Regions from separate parts of the Homo sapiens genome. Here regions 2 and 3 are each linked to region 1. Evidence: promoter capture Hi-C in 16 types of primary human blood cells and fetal thymus (Javierre and others, 2016). All regions are on one chromosome and are shown on one strand. Each heading gives the region's core, a stretch centred on a gene start or on the middle of the fragment in contact. The rest is flanking DNA. Distances are from core to core; before and after follow the strand shown.

Region 1 (3,890 bases), core at 434-2,933:
CTTTTAGCCCCTTATTCACCTCTGATCTTGTAGACAGCTGAGGATGCCAAGGACTTCTTCAAGAGGAAGATAGATTTTCTAACCAAGCAGATGGAGAAAATCCAACCAGCTCTTCAGGAGAAGCACGCCATGAAACAGGGTAAGTTTTTCCTGGGGCACCTCTTGACCCTATCTCCATAATAAGGAACATGGATTGCAGTGTGAACCACGGGGGTGTCCCCTTTGCTGGAGTAAAACTATGTCTTAGTTTCTCTTTGGCATCTTTAGAATCTGTGTATTGCATAATCACTATCTGTAGATTCCTGGGTTGAGCGTTTGAGAAATTTAGAGGAAGGAAATCATGTTTGTGCTTTGGTGGAGCTCCTATTTAATGACGATGGAATGGGGGAATGAGATGAACACACAGGAAGGAATCATGATCCAAACGAACTAAATACCAGCAATTATAACCCCGACTGCACATGAGAATCACTCAGGAAGTTTAAAAAGAAAGCTTGGGCCCATTCCAGATTGACTAAATCAACTTGGAAGTCAAAGGAGGGGAAGTTGTACCAAGGTCTGTTTTTTTTTAAAAAAGCTCCCCTCTGTTATAATCAGGATTCAGAACCAGTGTTCCAAAGGTAAAAATCTTTCCCCATCATAGTTTTCTGATTATGTCAGACTCATTTAATACCATATTGTGTTCGTTTTTATATCTTTGGTTAGCAGGTTTTTTTTTTTTCCGAGAAGAGTCTCATTCTCACCACACCCAGCTGTGTTAGCATATTGACCGATGCATTGTAGACCCTAAATTTGTGTTAGTGACCCCACAGTGGATCACTGAGTTAAAGTTTTATTAACAATGCCAGGCGCAGTGGCTGACGCCTGTAATCCCAGCACTTTGGGAGGCCAAGGCAGGTGGATCACCTGAGGTTAGGAGTTCAAGACCAGCCTGGCCACCATGGTGAAACCCCATCTCTACTAAAAATACAAAGTTAGCCCGGGCATGGTGGTGCATGCCTGTAATCCCAGCTGTTCGGGAGGATGAGGCAGGAGAATCGCTTGAACCCGGGAGACGGAGGTTGCTGTGAGCCAAGATCGTGCCACTGCACTCCAGCCTCGGTGACAAGAGCAGGATTCTGTCTCAAAAAAAAAAAAAAAAGGTTATTAACAAACTGTAGTTAGTCGGTCGCCTGTCCTTAAACTTGCCTGTCACTTCTCCTTAACTCTAGGTTCTCCTTTTTGCTTCTAACCTTTGACTCTTATTTTTTTCCACAGCCGTCATGGAAATGATGAGTCAGAAGATTCAGCAGCTCACAGCCCTGGGGGCAGCTCAGGCTACTGCTAAGGCCTGAGAGTTTTTGCAGAAATGGGGCAGAGGGACACCCTTTGGGCGTGGCTTCCTGGTGATGGGAAGGGTCTTGTGTTTTAATGCCAATAAATGTGCCAGCTGGGCAGAATGTTGGTCTTTTCTTGGATTAAGCAAGGGACTGGTGATGAGATGGGGGGTGTGGTCGAGAGTGTGGGCCCCGTCTCAGAGCCTGATGCGCAGGGGTGATGCGATGCGCCTCTTGGAGGCTCCATCGCAGGGCCCTTTGACCAGCTGGAAGAAATCCTAGGCTGGGAGTCTGCTGCTGCTCACTCTGCAGAGCTGGTTGCCAAGGGAACGGTTGGCAAGCGGAAGTGGGGCTGCGCTGGCGCTTCCTCTTCCGGGTCGGCGCTCCTGCCTCCCTGCAGGGAGCTGCTTATGGGACACCAATTCCTGCGCGGCCTCTTAACGCTGCTGCTGCCGCCGCCACCCCTGTATACCCGGCACCGCATGCTCGGTCCAGAGTCCGTCCCGCCCCCAAAACGATCCCGCAGCAAACTCATGGCACCGCCCCGAATCGGGACGCACAATGGCACCTTCCACTGCGACGAGGCACTGGCATGCGCACTGCTTCGCCTCCTGCCGGAGTACCGGGTACGGTCCGCGAAAAGTGACCCTGGGACTGCGTGCATGCATGCCTCCGGGGTGGATGGCATTCCGCCAACAGGGTCACTCCGATAGCGCCCGGCAGCCCAAGCACCCTTCCTACCCTTCCTGCCTCCCTGAAGTCCAGCATTAATCCCCTACCCGGCGACACCCGGCAGCCCCTTCACCCCTGTGTACCTCGCAGGATGCAGAGATTGTGCGGACCCGGGATCCCGAAAAACTCGCTTCCTGTGACATCGTGGTGGACGTGGGGGGCGAGTACGACCCTCGGAGACACCGATATGACCATCACCAGAGGTAGGTTCTCAGATACCATTTATTTAACTTCCTTGACCTCAGCTTTCCTCTGTGCTCCAATTCAGCCATCCACTGCCGTAGTCCGCGTCAGCGAAAAGAACTGCTTCATCACTGAAATCAAACTCCCACTAGGACTACATCATCCTTCCGGCCCTGCCTGTTCTTCACCCATCTCCCTGGCCTGGGACCTCCTTTGGTTCCCAGGGAGTCCCTCAGGCCCCTTATCTCATCTCCTTCCTTAGCCAAGGCTTTTTTTCCATCAGCAACTTCATCACCCCAACTAAATAAACCCATCTGTGATTAATCCATTCTGGTGCCCTTGCTGCTGCACCTAACTGCTGGGCCCACATGATTGTGGCAGTTGGTGACAGTTCAGATGTGTGAAGTTTTCTACTTCATTTACACCCTTCCAAAGGGAAATCCTTCTTGCTCAAGGGTAGCCCATTCCAATCCTTTTCTTCTCCCTCAAGCCTCTACCGCATCAAACTGAGTGTCCCTGCCTCTTTTCAAAAGAAGTTGAGCATTTCCTCAGTCTCCCACCTCAAACATCCTCAGCTCCCTCCTACCAACTAAGGGAAATTTCTTCCCTTCTATTGGAGGTTAATCCTCTGTCCTGTTTCCAGTCTATTACTTTCTTCTCTGGGATTCTTTTTTCTTTTCTTTTTTTTTTTTTTTGAGACGGAGTCTCCCACTGTCGCCCAAGCTGGAGTGTAGTGGCACGATCTCGGCTCACTGCAACCTCTGTCTCCCAGGTTCAAGCGATTCTCCTGTCTCAGCCTCCCGAGTAGCTGGGACTACAGGCACCCACCACCACACCCGGCTAATTTTTGTATTTTTAGTAGAGACGGGTTTCACCATATTGGCCAGAGTGGTCTCGAACTCCTGGCCTTGTGATCTGCCCCGCCTTGGCCTCCCAAAGTGCTGGGATTACAGGTGTGAGCCACTGTTGGCCTATCCTCTGGGATTTCATGTCACAGTTCCACTAGTGTCTCTGCCTCTCCTTCCCTACAGCCTAAAACCCTTCTCAAGTATCTTCCATCTTGAAAAGAAACACAGGTGTAAAAACAAAACCCTCCCTCAATTATACCACACCACGAGAAGTAATTATCTTGGAGAGAGGGATTATGATGTTTTAAGTCTCTCTCCTTTTTTCTTTTTTTAGCATACATATTATAAATGATGTCAGGAAGAAACCCTCCCAATATTTACAGCCTAAGCTCTCACCCTTGCTTCTCAGCCACCCTTCAAAAAACAGCTGACCGTGGCTTCACCTGTTCCTTTCCAGTTCATTCCCCTCAAGCCCACTCTCCCAGTGTCTTCTCTGGAACTGCTCGGCAGAAGGGCACCAGTTACCTCAGCACCAAACCAGGGAGCTGGTAAAGGGTCTCAACTGATCTCTTTAGCACTTGGCATTATTGACCACTTCCTTTTATCAAATTGTTTTTAAGATGGAGTCTCGTCTGTCACCCAGGCTGGAGTGCAGTGATGTGATCTCGACTCACTGCAACCTCCGTCTGCTGGGTTCAAGTGATTCTCCTGCCTCAGCCTCCCAAGTAGCTGAGACTACAGGCGCCCAGCTAATTTTTGTATTTTTAGGAGAGACAGTGTTTCACTATGTTGGCCAGTCTGGTCTTGAACT
Region 2 (3,890 bases), core at 414-2,913, 92 kb before region 1:
ATACTGGTGTGTATTTCATCTACATTCTCATGCTAAGAAATATATATATATAGGTGGGTATTGCCAACATAAACTCTTCAGGACTTGTACTGGTCCACATTCCCATCAGCAATGTATGAGAAAGGCCAACTAACTCCTTGTCATAAACCATTTGCATCTTCTTCAGCCTGGGCCCAGAGTCAGGTCCAGATACTCTGCACAGAGTGTGGGAAAGGGGTGGGGTGTTGAGTCCTTGAATGTCCTGGTCCTGCTCCCCACCACCTGTGACCTCAGGCGCCATATATAACGGAGCCTCCACCCCTCGGGGAGAGGCCAGTCCCAGCTCAGCCTCAGCGTAACCTCAGCCCTGCTTGCTCTGCATGCCTGTGGTCAGGGAGGCTGGAGATGCTGCAACCCAAAGCCGGGTTTTGACTCATCTCTCACAAGTGGAGCCCCGGCTGCCGCATAGGTTTTTCAGAGACCTTAGGCCCACTCATCTCCCCTTAAAGGGGGCCCTGGGACTTCCTGGACAGCCCTTTCCTACCTTTCTTTCCAATTATCCTCTCTTCTCCCCTCCTTGAGAATACATGTTCTGCCACCTATTTCTCTGTCTGCTTCTCTGTCTCTCTCTGGCTCCTTTCATTTCAAAACTTCTATTGCATCTCTCTGCTGCTTTTCTCTGCTCCACTTCTTCATAGGGCTATTTTACTTCCTTTTCCCCTCTGTTCCTAACTATAGAATGGCTGAATCTACTACTCCATCCCACTCTTTTTACAAATGGAAACCTAAATTCCATGAGGCCAGGGTCACCCAGTGAACTAGGGGCAGGGCAGGACAGGGCAGGGCCAGGCCTCTGCTGTGCTTTCTCCTTTCCTCCCTCCAACCCAGGCACTATCTCCATCAAAAGTTGTGTTCTCTCCCCACTAGCCCTGGTGGGCTCTGCCTAATCCCATTTCTCTTTCCTTAGGGGTATTCTGCAGTCTTCCCTTCTCTCTCTGGGACCAAGTGGTTATTTCCATTTTTCTGGACTCCATTCTGACTCCAGTACACACCCTGTGACCCCCCTCAGCAGCTGAGAAACAGAGCCTCTTCCAAACCCATCCCTACCTTCCAAATCAAGCAGAACCCTCTGCTGCCCACTGGGAGTCACAAGGAGGGGACGGAACTGAGCTGCTGGGCCTCAGTGTCCCAGGACAGTGGAGTCTGTGACCAAGGTGCCGATTAGGAAGAAGTCTGAGCTGAAGGCAGAGCATTAGGGATAGCAGCTGGGGGTGATGTTGGAAGAACCCTCCCTCAGTATAATCGGTATACCTGCCCTACTTCGGTATAGTCCTTGGCACATGGCAGGCACTCAGATGACAGCACTCATATACATCCCTGCCTCCAGACCCACTCATGGGAAACTGATGCAGGAGAGATTGGGCTTTTGGAGAGGTGGAGGTGGGGGTACTGTGAAACTGGAGGAGGGAACCAGGTCAGGGGATCTTAGGAATGCAGAAAGGAGTTCAGAGCCTTTCTCAAGTCTGGACAGGACCCTCGGTATCCAGGTCAGAGCCCTCTTCCCAAGAGGTTGGGACCAGGTGGGCCAGAGCTTGTAAGGAGAGGAGGCAGAAGGGCTGGTGCCCTGGTACTCACAGGTGCGTGCAGAGCAGTCCTTCCTCTGGCGGCAGCAGCAGCCTTTGTGTACTGATCTGGGAGACGGCAGAGGAGGAAGTGACACTCCCCAGGGTGGGGAAGATTTGGGGTTGGTGGGGGTGACTGATCTAGAAGGTGGTGCAGATAGGGGTGGGGCTGAGCCAAGGGAGTGGACAATACAGAGATCTGGAAGAAAGAAGCCCATTTATTGAACCCCTGTCATGTGTTGAACGTAACATATTACAATTAACCCTCACAACAATCTCATAAGATAGGGGTTAATATTCCCCCAAGCCCCAATTTTACAGATGCAGAGATTGAGGCTTGGAAGCAGGAAATAAAGAATTTTGCCCAAGGTCCCACAGCTAGTAAGTAGCTAGTCTAGGATTTAAAAAAAAAAAAGAAAAAAGATTTTTATTTTAAATTTTTATTATTTTATTTTTTTTATTTTAATTTAATTTAACTTTTGAGACAGGGTCTTGCTCTGTTTCCCAGGCACAATCTCAGCTCACTGTCCCATGGCACAATCTCAGCTCACTGCAAACTCCGCCTCCCAGGTTCAAGCGATTCTCCTGCCTCAGCCTCCCGAATAGCTGGGATTACAGGGGTGCACTACCATGCCCAGCAACGTTTTATATTCTTAATAGAGACGGGGTTTCACCATGTTGGCCAGGCTGGTCTCAAACTCTTGACCTCAATTGATCTGCCCACCTCGGCCTCCCAAAGTGCTGGGATTACAGGTGTGGGCCACCATGCCCAGCCTGTTTTTTATTTTTGAGACAGGGTCTTGCTGTGTTGCCCAGGCTGGTCTGTAACTCCTGGACTCAAGCAATCCTCCCACTTTGGCCTCCTGAGTAGCTGGGATTACAGGCACACTCGGCTGGTCTGGGATTTAAATCCAGGTCTGCCTGCCTCCAAAATTCATGATCTCTCCATTTACTTATATAGGAAGGAACATGATAGGAGGGAATAGGGGCAGTAAGTACTGTAGAGAGGCCAGAAATTACAGACTTGTTCATTTTGAAAACCCAGGATACATTATATAAGTGTGCTTGACTACATAGGCTCTGGAGCCAAGTTGCTAGAGTTCAAATCCTGGCTCTACTACTTACTAGTAGTAAGGAGCTTAGCTGAGTTACTTAAACCTGCCTGCAGCTGTTTTCTCATCTGTCCAGCAAGACTCACAGGATTGTCGTGAGAATTAAAAGAGATAATTCATATCAATTGCCTACAAGACTACCTGGCACATACTAAGTAAGGGCTTGATAAGAGAATTAGTAGGGATGAGAAGTAGCAGAGGTGAGAAGTGAAGAGGCTTTGAGAAATTCAAGGTCCACACAACTGGAAACTTGGAAGAGAGAGGCATAGGGCCAGGCTCAGAGCATGTGATTGGGGAACCAGGAGCCAACACAGTAGTGGATCCTGGGAAAGGGGTGGAGGAGGTGAACTGGGAGAAGCAGAGAGTGCAGGAACAACAGCTGAAGCCAAGGCAAGGATGAAGCCCGTAGGGAGAGCAGGAAAATATTAATGGGATTTGCTCCTGGCCCATACAGATCACTAAGAGCTTTGAGAGGGAACTAGACATGAGGTCTGTGTTCACAGGTCGATCTCCCCTACCAGAAGGAGCACTCCTTGTAGGCAGGGACTGGCTCTACAAGGCTTCCCTGCTGGAGCCACCACACCTAGCCAAGTGCCCATCTTATAGTAGGTGCTCAATAAATGTCAGATGGATTGCAGAGGTGTAGCTGCTAGGAGGGGACAATTGGAGAGGAGGGGCTCTTTCTCTGGGTGGGCTTGGCTGGCCTCAGGCTATGGGATAGCCAGGACCTATACCCTTCCCCCACAACCAGGGGTTACCACGGCAATGACCCTCCTTCCCCACAGGCCCTGTGGTTTCCTCTAGAGCTTCTTTCACTTTCTTCTTCTGCTTTCCGCCCTCCACTCTTCTCTCCCCTACTCCCACATCCTCAACTTTTTTGTCATAACCACAGGTCACCAATGAAGAGAGCCAGGAACAAGGTAGGCAAGGCACTGTCCCAGGGAAGGTAGGACACGGAGGAGGGGCTTGAGGGGAGTCACAGAGGGCGAAGGGAAGAGTACAGGGTGCAGCAGTAGAGGCCAAAGGCACTGCAAAGGCGTGTTGCAGAGGGAAGGCGTGTGGGAGCAAGGACAGATATTCGGAAAGAAGGTAACAGTGCAGGTGGCAGTGAGTGGAGGTCATGGGGTGAAGAGTGGGAACAGAGAGGGTGGGGGGAGTAAGGTATAAGGTGATAGCA
Region 3 (3,890 bases), core at 557-3,056, 67 kb before region 1:
ACTCTCCACCCGCTGCCCCCCTCCCCTCTGTATAAACACGACCACCTTTTTCCATGACCCCATCTCCAGCCTGGGCAGAGAACCCAGGCATCCTCTGCTCTAGCCTGGGCCCCCAGCCTGCTCCCCAGGAGGCAGCAGTGGGCCAGGCTTCCTTGGCATTGTGCCATCCCTGGGGGAGTCCAGACCCTTGAGTCTCCACCTCTCATCCCCAGGTGCCCTCCCTCCACCCTACTAGCCCCAGGGAGGGGCAGTGCCCAGGAGGCAGGCAGGCAATGCCAGTGGAATGTGTGTGGGCATCAGAGGGCATGGACAGGGTGGGGCAGAGGGGGGAACTGGAGGTGCCAGTTAGGTGGCTTTCTGAGCCAGGGGTGGGGGTGTGCCGGGGTGTGGGGGGGCGTGCCCCATGCTGCCTACTAGGCTGTAGGCCACAGTGCGTGTGTGTGTGTGTGTGTGTGTGTGTGTGTGTGTGTGTGTGTGTGTATGTCTGTCTATATGGGATACCCAAGCTCCAGGCTCCCTGCACACACTACCCCCACTCCCCTGTCTTCTCTCTACTTGCCTCAAGGATATGAGATGCTGGCTATGGTCCTTGACCCCAACTCAGCATCTGACCCTAAGGGCAGAAGCCTCAGACTTGAGGATTGGGATTCCAGCTGCCCAGGACCAGAGCCCTAAAGCGGGACAGTCATCTCAGTTTCTTGCCCTGAAGACCTCCTACTCAGGCTCCCCTGCCCCCACCACCACTAACAACCAAGCATCTTCTTACCCGCTGGCCGCCTGCAGAGACTGGCTTCTACATACTGGGTCAGGTTGAGGGAACTGGGCCGTAGCTGCTAAAGACAGAGAGGCAGCGTCAGTGGAACTCTGGGACCAGCACTCCTGGGTCCCTGTCCCGGTCTTCCTGCTCTTTCTTTGTTCCATTTGGGCTTCCCTCAAGAATACTCCAGAGGTGCCCCCCACCTTGGCTGGAGGGAGCCAAGGCTCGCACCTGGGCTGGGAACGTGTGGGAGGGAATCCAGCGCTTCAAGGAAAGTTCACAGATCCCTATCCTATGCACCAGTCCTTCGGAACTCCTGGACGCGGAGGGCCAGGCTCACTTGCCTCTGGACGTTTTCCTTGCCTTCTGATGTCCAAGCTGTCCCATTCCACTGGGGAGGGAGGAACTTGGACCAGCATGGAACATCAAATCTACCCCTCAGAGCCCGGGGGTAAGGGGGTGGTAGTCTTTCCCCGCGAGAGGAAACCCTGTCTTCTCTCACATTCCCAGCACAAAAATATAAGGAGGAATGCCCCCTGGCTGAAGACTTCCCCAAATGCTGTCCTCTGCTATGCACCAAAATGAAGGGCAGATGACCCAGCCCATCCTCAGCCTGTTAAAATCTTCCCCATTCCCTTCCCACAGCAGGACTGGCCTGGGTCGGGGCAAGAAGCCCCCCTCAAGCCCGGCGGCCAGCCTGGCCAGCCTCGGGAGGGCATTCGCCCGTGCAGCTCCTCCGCGCCCCCTCCCCCAGCCGCCTCGCCGGAGGACCCAGGCGACGGGGCGGGCGAGCCTGCTTCCCCGCCTGACTCACCTGGAGTGGGAGGGGGAAGGGAGGCGGCGGAGCCCCGAGGTCCCGGCGTCGGGCAGTCTCTTGGATGGAGCGTCGCAATGTCCGGGGCTCGCCGTACTGGGGGGCTCCTGGGGGGGCACGGCTCTAGGCTGGGACTGTCCCGGGGCCTCTCGGAGCCCGCCCGCCCACGTGACCGCCCCAAAATATCCGACACATTTTCTCCCAAACCGCACACTGACTCTGCAGGCGGGGACACGGAAAATATTTTCTTTCTTTTTCTCCCTCCCCACCCCCCCCCCAACCTCCCTCCCTGCCCAACTCCCTCCTCCCCCTCCCGCCCTCGCTCCTCCCTCCCCTGCCTGCCCCTGCCCGGCTCCCTCCTCTGTGCCCTGGGGCTGGGGGGCGGAGGGATGGGTGGGCGGGAGGGGGACTGGGCGGGGCGGCCCGGGACGCCTGGGTCTCTGCCCTTCCCATTTGCTAGGCTTCCGTGACTCCATCCTCTGGGAGGCCGGGCACGGCTGGCAGAGGAGGTCAGTGTCCTGGCCCCGTGATGCCAACCTTTTCTCTCTGGCACTTTTCTCCTTTCTGCCTTTTGGGGGGACTAGTTGAGTTGTCTGTGGCCAGGCTGTGACTCTTGCGAGGCCAGTCTCTGGCGCCTCCCCAGGGTAGGCAATGGGGCGGTACCCACTCCCTCCCAGTGCTGGATTGGCCGGGCAGGAGTATGCCAGATCTAGAATAGATGCTCCTGCCCTTACTCTTTGCTCAGCCTTCACCTGCAGATCCAAGTAGCCTCTCCCTTCCCCTAGCCCACCTCAGTCCTTTGGTCCCAGGAGCAAACTGGTTGACTAGTGGCTGTTGCTGGGGGTGCTGAGGCCAGGGCTCACAGACATCTTCCCTGTCATCTTGCCTGGAGTAAGCTCCAGGAGTTAGGGCGCCTGGGTCCCTGGCTGCCAGTTGTCCCCCACCTTTAGGCCTGGATTTGGAAGGGGAGAGGCTGGAGAGGAGGGCAGGAGGAACTGTGGCTGGGAGTGGGAGGAGCCTTGGGCTGGGTGTGAGAGAGAAAGCCCAGGCAGAGGGTGTGTGTCTGCCCTAGCCAGCACCGGCCTGCCTGCCTGCCTGCCTGGTAGATGTGCCATGAATGCTGTTGACTCCGGGTGTGTGTGTGTGTGCGTGTGTGTGTGTGTGTGTCTGTGCAAGCGCGTGCGCATGCCAGTGCCGAGAGTGAGTGTCTGTGTCTGATGGGGGCATTATCTGCTTCAACATAGACAGACTCTCAACCCTAGAGTGAGAGAACCCAGTGGTTTCACTCTGCATTCTACTGAGGACAGAGGGAGAGAAAAGAATGGGTCTGCAGTCCAAGCTCTGTGCACGGATCCCAAACACTCCCATGGGGACTGGAGTTGGGAGGGAGAAAGAGGAGAAGGGGAGAGTCTGAGCTAGGCTGATAGGCTGGACAGACATACCCAAAGTACCTTCCCCAGCAATGCTCGCAGGGTGACCAGGACCTGGGACACAGACTCCTGGGTCACGTCACATTTTCCATACTGGAATTACTTGGCTTTGTCCTTGCTCCCCCCTGGGGGCCAGGTGTCCTCCCTCCTGGGAAAGGCTGCTTTTGGTAGCCAAAGTCAGGTGAAGGAGATGGGGGAAAGAAGAGGCATGCTGTGGTTACCTCAGGGAATGGGAGATGGCAATGGGGGTGCAGACAAGCCCTCTCTTTCACTCCAGGGATAGGAAGAGCTAGGAATAGATACTCCAGGGTCCCGTCCCCAGGTGGCCTAGCTGCTGTTGACTTTGCTTGGTTACCCTGGGAGCAGCTCTCAGCAGTGTGGGAGGGGCGGGTGTCAGGGAGTTGGACCCAGGCGTCCAGGCTGGGGTGGGATGGCGCCCCGCCTGTGTGGCAGGGCTCCTGCCAAGAGGCTGCAAAGTTAACCCCTCCTGCCCTGCCCTAGTGGTGGCTGGTGGGAGGAGGGCGGGCCCAGTTGTGGTTTGGGAATGTGGCCCTAATTTCCCCCTCCCCCTTCCAGCACATCTGTACTTGGTTTACAGTGAATGAGCCTCCTGTCCTCATGAACCAGGCAAGGGCACCACTCCCTCCTTGGCCAGGCATTCTGACACAGAACCAGGCACCACCCGTGACACTCTCCTCTCCCTGCTGAGTATCATCTCTCTGAACTCTTCCCTTCTCCTTCTGTAGAGGGGCTTAGGGTTGGTCCCAAAGATCTACAGCTGGAGCTCTGAGACAGTGCATCTAGGTAGCAAATGGGGCCAGGGAAGCCTAAATCGGGGGACAAAACACTTGGGGTAGCCTCTGAAAACAGAGGGAGTCAGAATTCCAAC

The links. The method cuts DNA at HindIII sites, captures the fragments that hold promoters and counts their contacts. A CHiCAGO score of 5 or more calls a contact.
Region 2: a contact is called between the fragment with the promoter of ITGB7 here and the fragment with the promoter of MYG1 in region 1, in 7 of 17 cell types (activated CD4 T cells, endothelial precursors, M2 macrophages and 4 more). The highest score is 7.8, in activated CD4 T cells.
Region 3: the fragment with the promoter of RARG here is called in contact with the fragment with the promoter of MYG1 in region 1 in 1 of 17 cell types (endothelial precursors); the score reaches 5.2 in endothelial precursors.

The regions. Positions count from the first base shown.
Region 1 is chr12:53,298,012-53,301,901 of GRCh38, forward strand. It overlaps MYG1 (MYG1 exonuclease), which reads left to right and starts at 1,684. Exons shown (of 7, transcript NM_021640.4): 1 at 1,684-1,942; 2 at 2,139-2,251. The coding sequence starts at 1,727. It overlaps PFDN5 (prefoldin subunit 5), which reads left to right. Exons shown (of 6, transcript NM_002624.4): 5 at 34-139; 6 at 1,258-1,439. The coding sequence ends at 1,334. RefSeq lists enhancers at 656-1,855, 1,359-1,448, 1,489-1,588, 1,494-1,788, 1,599-1,658 and 1 more. The HindIII fragment of the contact is 10,124 bases long and covers 492-3,890 here.
Region 2 is chr12:53,205,588-53,209,477 of GRCh38, forward strand. It overlaps ITGB7 (integrin subunit beta 7), which reads right to left and starts at 1,664. Exons shown (of 16, transcript NM_000889.3): 1 at 1,615-1,664. The HindIII fragment of the contact is 16,923 bases long and covers 1-3,890 here.
Region 3 is chr12:53,230,403-53,234,292 of GRCh38, forward strand. It overlaps RARG (retinoic acid receptor gamma), which reads right to left and starts at 1,807. Exons shown (of 10, transcript NM_000966.6): 1 at 1,572-1,807; 2 at 767-833. RefSeq lists silencers at 1,493-1,622, 1,943-1,992. The HindIII fragment of the contact is 21,807 bases long and covers 1-3,890 here.